3 separate regions of the Homo sapiens genome follow, and all the other regions are linked to region 1. The links are contacts of gene promoters, found by promoter capture Hi-C in blood cells and fetal thymus (Javierre and others, 2016). All regions are on one chromosome and are shown on one strand. Each heading gives the region's core, a stretch centred on a gene start or on the middle of the fragment in contact. The rest is flanking DNA. Distances are from core to core; before and after follow the strand shown.

What was found. Contacts are between HindIII fragments. The CHiCAGO score rates a contact against its expected background, and 5 or more counts as called.
Region 2: a contact is called between a fragment that was not itself captured here and the fragment with the promoter of PRELID3B in region 1, in 4 of 17 cell types (total B cells, naive B cells, naive CD8 T cells and 1 more). The highest score is 7.1, in total B cells.
Region 3: a contact is called between the fragment with the promoter of GNAS here and the fragment with the promoter of PRELID3B in region 1, in 10 of 17 cell types (naive B cells, erythroblasts, total B cells and 7 more). The highest score is 8.0, in naive B cells.

The regions. Positions count from the first base shown.
Region 1 is chr20:59,039,984-59,044,597 of GRCh38, forward strand. PRELID3B (PRELI domain containing 3B) reads right to left here and starts at 2,803. Exons shown (of 6, transcript NM_016045.3): 1 at 2,716-2,803. The coding sequence starts at 2,747. It overlaps SLMO2-ATP5E (SLMO2-ATP5E readthrough), which reads right to left and starts at 2,863. Exons shown (of 6, transcript NR_037930.1): 1 at 2,716-2,863. RefSeq lists a silencer at 2,721-3,120. The HindIII fragment of the contact is 2,130 bases long and covers 1,342-3,471 here.
Region 2 is chr20:58,860,343-58,864,956 of GRCh38, forward strand. LOC101927932 (a long non-coding RNA gene) reads right to left here. Exons shown (of 5, transcript NR_126334.1): 5 at 3,414-3,796. It also overlaps a transcript of GNAS not described here. Among named protein-coding and RNA genes, the nearest start is that of GNAS, 29 kb to the right of the region's middle. The HindIII fragment of the contact is 4,352 bases long and covers 39-4,390 here.
Region 3 is chr20:58,890,057-58,892,670 of GRCh38, forward strand. GNAS (GNAS complex locus) reads left to right here and starts at 1,365. Exons shown (of 13, transcript NM_000516.7): 1 at 1,365-1,809. The coding sequence starts at 1,671. RefSeq lists silencers at 623-772, 833-1,332, 1,343-1,562, 2,433-2,522. The HindIII fragment of the contact is 29,581 bases long and covers 1-2,614 here.

The DNA of each region.
Region 1 (4,614 bases), core at 1,553-4,052:
CCAAGGCAACTCTCTAAAATGAAAATCAGATGAACCCTCCCCAGGTCTCCATCCAGTCATATGCCATGGTTAGCTGGCTTCCATGCCCTTACCTCTTCCCCCAACCCTCTCTAAAAAATTAATAATCGCATGACTTCAGGGTGGTTATGCATTATTTGTAATTTAGTCCATCTCTCCTTTCTGAACCAACTTGAAACCACTGATGTTGACTTAGCTTGGCTCAAGATTGCTTTATGAACCATAACCAGCTCAAACATTACAAACAATACTTATTATGATTAATCTTCCAGCAATTAATCTGAGCTGTATTAACATAATTACGTGGAAAAGATCTCACAATGGAAGACATTCAAAGACCACGCCAAAGTAGAATCAGGAGGACCTGGCTATGGCTCACTGACCGGTCCAACTTCTTCACCTTTGAAACGAGGTGAGGACATTATTAACTCCACTGGCGCAGCATCGAGGTCTTGATTTACTTATGAAAATGTAATCAATCCAAAGAACAGTGGCTGACACATACTGGGCATCTCTATAAGTTGAAGGAATCAATGAATGACTTCACCTGGATGCCAACTATAGGCCTCAGAAGAAAAGTGTTGGAAAATCAAAGACAGATAAGATGTAGAATGATGACTTAGACATTGTTAGAGAGTGACATCCTAAAGATCAGAAACAACGCTCAGATTTGTCAGGGGAGATGATGACTTCAATTTCAGACAGGCTGAGTTTTAAGGGCCTGTGGGACACGAGGGTAGCAATGCCTAACAGGCACCTGAAAATGAAAAGCGGAGCTCAAGAGAGGCTGGAGCTCAAGGTACAGATCTGGGTGCCATAAATGTATACCTATCATTTGGGACTTTGACCAAACAGCTCAGATTATGTGGGGAGAAAGCACGGATCAGGGCTGCTTCTCCCAGGACAAAAAAAAAGTCTGTGACGAAAAGAGAAACAAAAAAGAAATTAAGATCACAGGTAAAATCCAATATAGGAAGGCCAACACAGAATCTCACTGAACATTTACACTGAATGGGAAAAGACAGGGAAGCGCTGAAGACAAAGGCAGAAAGAGTGTAGAGGGAAGGAGGGGATGAGCCAGGAAGAAGAGTTAGGGAAGATATGGGAGAAGACAGTTCTAGGGAGACTGAGTGCCGAGAACCTCTGAAGCATGCAAACCCAGAAGAGGACTGAAGCATGCAAACCTGGAAGAGGACTGAAATTAAACATCCTCGGAGCTGAAATGGACTAGTGATGAATGCGACCAGGTTAATGAACATCTAAATGACCACAAATTTCGGGTCTTTTTCCTCCCAAAAAGACTAAACAGTAGGGGGAAAAGAAAGCTTCCTTCTGATTCCAGTATTCTATACTTTGCAGGATACAGCAGGCCCTAGGATGTGTCCCACTGAGTACAAATGCGGACAACGTTTTAAAAGTTGCCTTCAGAGGCCGGGCACAGTGGCCCACACCTGTAATCCCGGCACTTTGGGAGGCCAAGGCGGGCGAATCACCTGAGGTCAGGTGCGACCTGACCAGGGCGAATCACTTTGAGACCAACCTGACCAACATGGTGAAACTCCGTCTCTACTAAAAATACAAAAATTAGCCGGGCGCGGTGGTGGGCGCCTGTAATCCCAGCTACTTGGGAGGCCAAGGCAGGAGAATCGTTTGAACACGGGAGACGGAGGTTGCAGTGAGCCAAGAACACGCCACTACTCTCCAGCCTGGGCAACAGAGCGAGACTCTGCCTCAAAAAAGAAATTTAAAAAAAATTTGCCTTCAGAGACAGTTTTAAAAACATAAATGGCTTTGTAGCATATTTATTTACAAGGCTATACTAATTAAAACAGTGTGGCAACGACATTAAGATCAGCGGAACAGAGCAGGTAACTCGGGAAAAAAAAGGATTTCGCTGCTTAAATTTGTGGCTCTTTTGTAAATGGAATCAGGGACCTAGAAGAGAATATAATTCTCCACATCCAACTGGTTCAAGGCTTAGTTTCGTTAGTAAACAGTTCACATTATCCAAAAAGATGTTCCTGAACGTGGCCTCAAAGAGCTAACACGGGTAGGCCCTGACGATCGTCCTTTTCCATCTCTCAGATGAAAATGGGTAACCCAGGGTCACACGCTTGTTACAGCCAGAGCTAGACCTTGAATTCCAAATCCAAGGCTCTGCTGCGTAGATGAACGAGTTGTGAAAAGGCTTCACATCCTGGTGGTCAGAGTTCACCCGAAATTCACATTCGAAGGTAGAAACTCCACCCAAACGGCGGCCAGGGAAAGTACACTCTGGAGAAAACCAACACCTCCCTCTTGGGATCCTCGGGTCCACGTCCCAAAGTGGTTTCACAGGGCGGGATGGGGCAACCCTGAGTGCTGTCAAGGGCTTCGTGCTCCGCGACGCCCCCAGGACCTCAGGAGGCCGCCGGCCCGAGGCTACCTCATGGTGGGGGACAGCCCGGAAGTGACCCCGTAGCCCTGCCGGTCGCAAGGCCGCCTGGGTCTGGAGGTCGGAGCCGTCCCCTCGGCTAGGGCGCCTCGGGGTCGTGACCTTGGTCTGCCCTCCGTGTCGCCGGGGCCCGCAGGCTTCAGAGTTCGCTCCCCTCGCTAGGCCCGACGCCTAGAAGCCTCCTGCGGGCCGCCTCTGCCTCGCCTCTACTCCAGGGCCGGCGTGCCTGCCCTCCACGGAGCCGACCCGCGCCCCAAACTTACTCAAAGACGTGCTCCGAAGTCCAGATCTTCATGGTGCCGGCACCCTGAGAGATGTCCGGGTAGCGCCAGGGGACAACGAGGCACAGAGGCTACACCTGCCCCTGCCCCGCCCCCAGCACCCCAGCCGGCGGCGCAGTGCGCAGGCGCTGTCGGGCCCGACGCGAGGGACGTCCAGACGCGCGGCCCCACGCCCTATCCCGGCCCGGGTTTTGCCCCAGCCTTGCGCGCGGCGCAAGGAAACCCCGCCTCTTAGCGCCGGGCGCATCGCGCCGGCGCAGTGCCGCCGACGGCAGCTGGAGGGGCCGGCGCGGGCGCTGTGCTGCGCAGGCGCGGCGGGCTTGTAGCGAGCCTTGACCTCTGGGCAGAGTTGGGTCAGGTCCAGGAGGTGCCTGCGCGCCCGCTTGGCCCTCCTTGTCCTTCTGGCCCAGCACATCCTCGCCTGGCATTTCGAGGCGTGTGGACGCATGCGGTCAGCCTGCTGACATAGATGTTCGTTGTGGTGGTCACTTGTGCAAAATTTCCTGGTGCCCTATAGAGAGTTCCAGCCACCTCCTGGGTCAGCCCGGGCTGTTTTCCCAAATCCACCAGCCACCCAGCCGATCAGCTGGGCCAGTCCCACCTGCCCGCCAGGAGCTTGCAGCCCTCGGAGGGGATAAATAAGGCGTGACGCGGAGAAGCTAACATCAGACCTGCCCATGAATAATACCCCTACGAGGGATGCGGTCCGGAAGCACGGTGCCAGGGGTCGGGTAGAAAAGCTTCCTGGCCGGGCACACCTTGCCCTAGGTGCATAGGATGGATCTGAGCTGAGATGTCTCTCCCAGAGAGACTTCCCTCGTCACCGTTTCTCACCTTGTTGCTCTGCTCCGTCACAATATCCTGTTGCATTTTTTATAGCACTTACCCCTCTGACATCATCTTGTTAATTTATTTGTGAAAATTCACAATCGAACTGAGTTCTTGAAGGCAAGAATCTTGCCGGTCTTGCTCAAAAATCATCCTCAGTGTCTCCCATATAGTCAAGGCTCAATGACTACTTATTGAAAAATGAAAAAAATCAATAGCTATTTGTGGGATGAATGAATTAATGGAGTCATCTAGTTTATTTGTTGTAACTTCCGCTAGACTGTAAGCCCCTGAGGGCGAGGCTCTTGCCAGACTTGTTCAGTGATTTCCCCCTTCCTAAATGACAATTATTTGTTGCATCAATGGATGAAAGAATGACTAAGAATTGCTGGGGCAGGAGGAGGTGGCATGTGGTTTCATTCAGAGATGAGCCTTGTCCAGGGAACAGACTGCCTGGCTTAGCTTTCAGAATATGGCTTCCCACCCTGCTCTCCTGCACTCTCCACAGCCGTCTACCTCCTAACAGAACAATTTGCCATTTTCAATGAAGGTTATGGAGGAAAATCTTTACATCTAGTTACTTAGAAGCTTGTTAGAAGGACCACCTCATTCTTGTTCTTAGCTTGTTTGATTGTTAAAGACAAAAAGCCAGGTTAATTTAGGAGGGAGGATAATTTTTCAAAATAACATAAGTCCTTTATACAGGAAAACAAAAATTACATTAGACAGGAAGGAAATAATATGGTTGGGTAGTTGCTAAGTGCAATTTGTGGTACCTGAGATTTTCTTTTTTTAAACCTACAGTACTTAAGAGTGATTTCTTGGGGAGGTAATGCTTTAAGGGCTACTGAGAGTACCTCAGCCTTGACTAAGATGCAGTTAACGTCGCTGGGTGTTAAAAACACTGGTTCAAGAACCATCAGCACAGAACAGCCTGTCCCTGCTATTCCTGGAGTTCCATGAGGCTGTTCACCATTCAGCATTCCTGTTCTGTTTATTTTAGAGAACATTATTCTGCTCTCAAGTTCAAAATTTCTGTGTTTTAGTCATGAA
Region 2 (4,614 bases), core at 965-3,464, 180 kb before region 1:
TTTTGTTTTGTTTTGTTTTGTTTTTTTGCAGGGTCTAAAGCTTTTCTTCTTGTTTAGGTTTCCACTAAATAATAATTAATCATTATAATAATAAAATGCAGTTACTTTTCTGCATAGCTCTATTATAAGTATAGCGTTAGAATGTTTAGAATCCTGGTCTGGATCTCATGATCTTATCAAAATAACTCTGCTCCATAGTCTTTGTAGTGATTTTTTTTTAAAAGTATGCCTTACTTCTAGTCCAGGCTAATTTCCATTTAGCAAGAGTCAGTGCGTGGTCTTAGAAATCACCTTTGACTTTTATGCAGGAAGGTTAGTTGTTGTTGTTGTTGTTTTTAAGATGGAGTCTCGCTCTGTCACCTAGGCTGGAGTGCAGTGGTACTATCTCGGCTCACTGCAACTTCTGCCTCCCAGTTCAAGGGATTCTCCTGCCTCAGCCTCTCGAATAGCTGGGATTACAGACATGCACCACCACACCTGGATAATTTTTTGTATTTTTAGTAGAGATGGGGTTTCACCATGTTGGCCAGGATGGTCTGGAAATCCTGACCTCAGGTGATCTGCCCACCTTGGCCTCCCAAAGTGCTGGGATTACAGGCATGAGCCACCGTGCCCAGCCAGGAAGGTTAGTATTAAGCAAAACATAAATTTATTTTTAGAGAAGGTAACCTAGATTTGAAATTCCCAAAGGCAGCCATGCTCCTTCTTCTTTTTAGAGTTAGTTTTTCCTCCAAATAAAACTTACCCCCAACCCCAGCAAAATTGTGGCTCTTCAAATGCCTCTAAATAACTCTCAGGAGACACATCAGTAGTGAACAACAATTCGTTTCTACACTTCTTGGTTTCTTTTAGCTGTAGTAGCAAATGTGAGGTTCCTCTCAAACCCACTCACGCCATTTGCCCATTTAAAAATCAAATTTCTCAGGAGGAGTAGCAATTTTCAAGAGAGAAGGGACAGGGCCAATTGATGTCACAAGGTCCTCACCATCAATTAAGACAAGTCAACGGAGGGAACTAAAAGCACTGGGCAGCCTAATTGACCATCTCTGACCCCTTGGAATAGGGACTAGGAGACTCTGGCCCTAACACGCACCTTCACAGATTTCATTAAATTAGACTGAATGGAGCTTTTGTTCCCATCAGATTCCTGTTCTGGCCTGTGGTCACCCTAAGCATAAGATCATGTTCTCTTTAGGAAGGAAGAGGAGAATGGACCTGAGCCTCTCTTTGGGAGTTCTGCTGAAAAGTCTGCAAGTCCTAAGTGGCCTTTATGCAATTTAGAGACTGGAAGGAAGGCACGAATATAAATTGGGGGAAAGAAGCCCCTGAACAAAGGAGAGGAGAGGTATTTCAAAAAGAGGATATATTCTTTTTTTTATTGAGACGGAGTTTTGCTCTTGTTGCGCAGGCTGGAGTGCAGTGGTGCAATCTTGTCTCACTGCAACCTCCGCCTCCCGGGTTCAAGCGATTCTCCTGCCTCAGCCTCCCGAGTAGCTGGGATTACAGGCATGCACTACCACGCCCCACTAATTTTGTATTTTTTGTAGAGACGGGGTTTCACCATGTTGGTCAGGCGGGTCTCGAACTCCTGACCTCAGATGATCTGCCCGCCTCAGCCACCCAAAGTGCTGGGATTACAGGTGTGAGCCATGGCACCTGGCCTTTTTTTCTTAATTCCCCCAAAAAGAGGGCCAGCTACTAGAAGCAGTTACAATTTGAGAAATCTGGAGTCTTTTTTAAAGGGTAACATGTTCAACCCAGTGCTTGGCACATATAAGTACCCCAAAACATGTTTTGGGTTTTTTGGGTTCTTTTTGTTGTTTTTTGTTTTTTGAGACAGGGTCTCACTCTGTCGCCCAAGCTGGAGTACAGTGGCATGATCTCGGCTCACTGCAACCTCTGCCTCCCGGGTTCAAGTGATTCTCCTGTCTCAGCCTCCCCAGTAGCTGGGATTACAGGTGCCTGCCAGCATGCCCAGCTAACTTTTATATTTTTTAGTAGAGATGGGATTTCACCATGTTGGCCAGGCTGGTCTTGAACTCCTGACCTCAGGTGATCTGCCCACCTTGGCCTCCCAAAGTGCTGAGATTACAGGTGTGAGCCACCATACCAAGCCTCGACTTTTAATTTTAGAAATTTATTTTCCTCCTAGATTTTTTTTTTTCTCCCTGCTCCAAGTGAGGTTTTGGGTTTGGTTAGTTTTCTGTTGTTGCTGGGTTTTTTTTTTGTTTGTGTCTTTGTTTTTCTGTTTTTTGCATTTCTCATTAGACTATTAACATGTAAGTTCTAAAAGTGCCAGCCATCTCATTCTGTCTTTCTGTCTCCACCTTTCAGAGTACATTCTTTGTTTACATTTTGTAAATAAAGGTCAACTCAAGCAGTAGACGAATGCCACCTTGCCACATTTATAATTGTGTGAAGTCACTCTCAGGTGAATGATGTGCCAGAGAGAGATGAGGAGATAACTTACTTTTTGACTTGTCCTGTAAAAGTGTCACCTGTCACCCCTGCCTATCCAGCTCCCCCTTCTGTTTTGATTAGCTCCTAACTATAAATCAACTCAATACCGAGGCTGAGCTCAAGGACCTGAGCTTGGATTGTTCTATGGTTATTACACATGAAAAAAAAAAAAAAAAGAAAGAAAGAAAATGTGTTTAGTTTCCTTTCCAACAGCCAGATGGTGAACCAGGCCAGCTCATGGGAATTGAAGATGAAGAGACCTCCAAGAAAGAGGTAGGGAACAACACAACAAAACAATGTTTGACTTTTCATTATGTTGATCGTCACATGCTCTTTGAGCACACACGAGTCACACACCTTTCAAGTTAGAATCAGTGGAGCGCTTTTCTACATGCAACAACTGGGAGCTATGCTATGGGAAGAATGTTAGGCAACTGATCTGTGACAGGGCAATGGAAATTAAGGGAGTGTGCCTCTGTTGTACTTCCTTAGAGTAAAATCCCAAATTGCATTGCAGAGTAATTTGTTAAACCTCAGGAGTATTTAAATTCAGGAGTATTTTGACTTGTGGAGTTCTGCCCACAGAACTGCACATTGGATCTTACTAAATGTTTTTTAATGATTCAATTTGGGGCGAGGAGAGAGGTATAAAGGTAGTATAAATTGTTATCCAATCTCAAATTTATTATGAGTCAGTCAATGTTTCCGACATTGTCACACACACACTGTGTGTGGGACAGAGTAAGTACTTTTAACTTCCTTTAATGAGTTGATAATGGGAAGGAAAAAAATCTCTGTACTACTTTCTAAAGAGTGTCACAGTTGAGCTTTCACAAGCTCAGTGTCACCACTGAGTGAGCATCGATTCTTACAAGGAAATTAAGACTTGGGCTGCAAGAGCCTCGCCTCTCTCTTCTGATTTATCTGGCTCTTGCCTCTCCCCCTCCATCAAAAGACCACACTATCTCTCTCCTCTTTTCCATTTGAACGATTTTGCCATTCATCAAACTGATTGCTAATGTGCAAATTACATGATGGTATTTTTACAGGGAACCTGCATTCAGGTAAGTTTGAAGCTGTGGGATATTTGAGGGGGAAAAAATGAATAATGCTTATCATGATCCACAGAAACTAAAGTCAGGCATTGTAGGACAGTCCAGAACCCAAGAAGGGCCATGGACAGGACCCTTCCAAAGGAAAGAGAATCTCGTGTCCCGTGTGTTAGCGAGTATCCATTCCAGCTCCCCCAGGGCTCTGGGACCCACATATCTGTGCCTCCATTTTTCTAGGGTTGTAGTAGCTGGTGGTCCAGTTGAAAAAAATGAAAACAGGAAACCTGTCAAGAATAGATAGTGTTATTTAGGAAGTATATAGGTACTTACATTACTGAGACCACTTGAACACATCCTTTTAAATAGATACCTTTTTTAAAATCTATGGTTATGTAACATCTGTGTCCGAGGGATTTAAGCAGAAAGCCCTGTGGGTTTCTCTTTTCAAAAGACAGACCTTATTTATAATCAGCCCCTCGATTTTTTTGGGGGGGCCTTCATGGGCTTTTGAAATCTTAGGAAGTGTCCATCCTAATTCCTTATAGCTGCTCTTTCTGTGGCTCTACTAGGGCCTTCAAGATGCTGAATTCACTTATTAATTAAATCATTGACGTCATTCAGGGGGTTCCTTTTGCCCACTGCCCCCCAACATGGGAATTTTTAAATGACTGGCTCTAGAAGGGCCCAAAGATGGTGAAGGTGAATTGATATTTCAGGTGACCACTAGATGGTGAGACAGTATAAGGCAGAAAACAGGTGGCACGTGTCTGTGAAAATGAGAGGGATGGCCAGGGCTGGCAAAGGCAAAGAAGGGTCCCCCTTGACTTTTAATGCCAGCCCCCACCCCAGGACAGACCTTGGATTCAAATAGGCCCCAAAGCTTTAGCCAGACCAGCTTTTTACTTTTACGCTGTGACTTCTCCTAGTTAGCTATATGCCAGGATTTTAGAAGCATTTTGGGGGGCTCAGTCTAACAGAGGGGTCCTCCAAGTGGCTTTATTGACATTTTTTCATGGGGTGGTTGTCCTATGCACTGTGGGATGTGTAGCAGCATCTCTGACCCCTACCTACCAGACACACACACACACACACACACACACAC
Region 3 (2,614 bases), core at 115-2,614, 150 kb before region 1:
CAAGAACCCGGCGCGGGAGGCGCTCCCCGAAAAGTTCCTAACAGACAAGGAGCGCAAGAAGCTCGAGAAGAAGCTGCTGGAGCAGAGGCGAAAGGAGGAGAAGAAGAAGGAGAAGGAGAGGAAGAAGATGGAGAAGATGCTGAAGAAGAAGAAGAAGAAGGTGCCAGAAGCCCAGGAGGAGGCCCGATGCCCCGAGGCCGCCGCCGCCGCGGCCGCCGCCGACGACGACGAGGGCGCCGAGGAGGGCGCCGTCGGGGGCGCCGAGGAGGGCGCCGCCGCCGGGGGCACGAGTAGGGCCTGGGCTGACTGGGACACGGACTCGAGCGACGAGGACGACGCCTACTACGCGGCGCCGCGCGTTGGGGGCATCGTGTGGCGGCCCGGGCCGCTCAAGGCTGGCGCGCTGAGCGCCCACCTGCCCCTCGTGGTGTTCCTGGTCTTCTCGGTGCGCAGCCCCTCGTGGGTGCTCAACTTCCTGCTGCAGAAGCGCACGGAGCAGGGCCGCGGCTGCGGCTTCGTGTTCGGGGCGACCTGCTGCTTCCGAGTGTTCCTGGGCTGCGCCTTCTTCTCCTACTTGGGCGGCCGCGCCAAGCGCAGAGGCCGCGGGCGCTCCGGGGCCAGAGGCGCCTTCGGCTCGGGCCATGGCGCCCGGCGCCGGGGGCGCGAGGAGCGGCTCATCTAGTCAGACCCCCCACCCCGCCACCGCCACCAGACACCACCATCGCTGTGTAGTGTGGGTTTTTATTCGTGTTCGTGTGTGTGTGTGGACACATTTTCCTTTTCGGTTGCTCTGTCCTTTGGTTCGTGCTCGCCTCGCTTTTTCCACACTCCTGCTCTCTGGCTCTCTGTGTCTCTCGCTCTTTCGAAAATTTTCCTAAGTCCGGGCGCGCGCTCCCTCCCCTTCCGCCCACCCCAGCCCCTCGGCGGCGCCCGCGGGAGGGGGAGGAGGCCTCGGGGGCGCCGGGCGACGCGGTCCGGGGGGTGGAGCGTTGGCGTCGTGCGAGGGGTCGTCACTGGCGCGGAGACGCCCCCTCTCCCCCCTCGGCTCAGCCGGGCTGCTGCCCGAGCCCGGGGGGTGGGGGGCGTCTCCCCGGCCCGTCCCGTCCCCGGCCGGGCGCGGGCGGAGGGACCCCCTCCCCGGGCTCCCGGGGGGCCGCCTCCCTCCGCCGGCTCCCGCCCTCCCAGCCGCCGCCGCCGCCGCGGCCGCTCCTCGGCCCTCCTCCTCCTCCTCCTCCTTCCACCCCCCTCGCCGCCGCCGCCTCCTCCTCCCCCCGCCTCCCCCCGCCCGCCGCGGCGCTTTTGGCTCGGGGCGGCGGCGGGGGCCCGGCCGAGGCAATAAGAGCGGCGGCGGCGGCAGCGGCGGCAGCAGCTCCCGCAGCTCCTGCTCTGGTCCGCCTCGGCCCGGCGGCGGCCATCAGCCCCCTCGGCCTCGGCTCGAGGGGCGGGGAGCTGCGCGCGCCCCTCGGTCCGACCGACACCCTCCCCTTCCCGCCCGTCCGCGCGCCCCGCGGCCCGCGGCCCGCAGTCCGCCCCGCGCGCTCCTTGCCGAGGAGCCGAGCCCGCGCCCGGCCCGCCCGCCCGGCGCTGCCCCGGCCCTCCCGGCCCGCGTGAGGCCGCCCGCGCCCGCCGCCGCCGCAGCCCGGCCGCGCCCCGCCGCCGCCGCCGCCGCCATGGGCTGCCTCGGGAACAGTAAGACCGAGGACCAGCGCAACGAGGAGAAGGCGCAGCGTGAGGCCAACAAAAAGATCGAGAAGCAGCTGCAGAAGGACAAGCAGGTCTACCGGGCCACGCACCGCCTGCTGCTGCTGGGTAAGGGCGGGCGGGGGGCGCCGGCCCCGGCCCGGGGGCCCTCGAAGGGCGCCCCGCAGGCCGCGCGCGCCGAGCCCGCCCCCCGCCCCGGGCGCGCGCTCCCGAGCCCCCCGCCCGTTCGCGGGCTCTGTCTGTGGGGGGCGAGGCCGGAAGGGGGACCCAGGGGCGCGGATTCGGCCGGGCGGGGGCTCAAAAACGGGGCGGGGGGCCGTGGCGACGCGGGCGCGGGTCCCCCTCCCCCGGCCTGCCCGCTCAGTGTCTCTCTCTTGCTCTCGCTCTCGCTCTCCCCCTCTTTCTCTCTTTCTCTCTTTTTCCGCGAGGCCTACACGACGCCAGGGGTTTGGGTGCGTGTTGGGGAGGGGGAGGGGGAGCCCATGGGGCTCCGGAGACTGCGACAAAAAGAGGGTTTCGGGGACAGGAAACCGGGTGGCGGGTAGAGGGAGGGGGACCCGCCTCCGTGGGGTGTGAGATTTGTTGGGAGAGGGAAAGAGGGGAAGAAAGGGGCGAGGAGAGGAGGGGGTGACGCTGGGGGGCGCCGTGGTGGCGGAGGGGGCCTCGCCAAAGGGAGGCTTTGGCGGGGAGAAGTGGCCGAGGAGAGTGGGGGGGCTGGTGACATCAGCCCCTCGGAAAGGATCGGAGCGGTAAAGGTGGTGCAGTGGGGGGGAGGGGGCGCAAGGGAGTCGTGGCGCCGGAGTCGGGAGGGGGGCGGCGAGGGGAGGAGGGAGGGCGGTTGCCGCTGGGCGCGACTTGGTGCGTTTCGGGCAGGACCGACTGACTGTGTGTGCGCGGAGCAGACGTGTCCCGG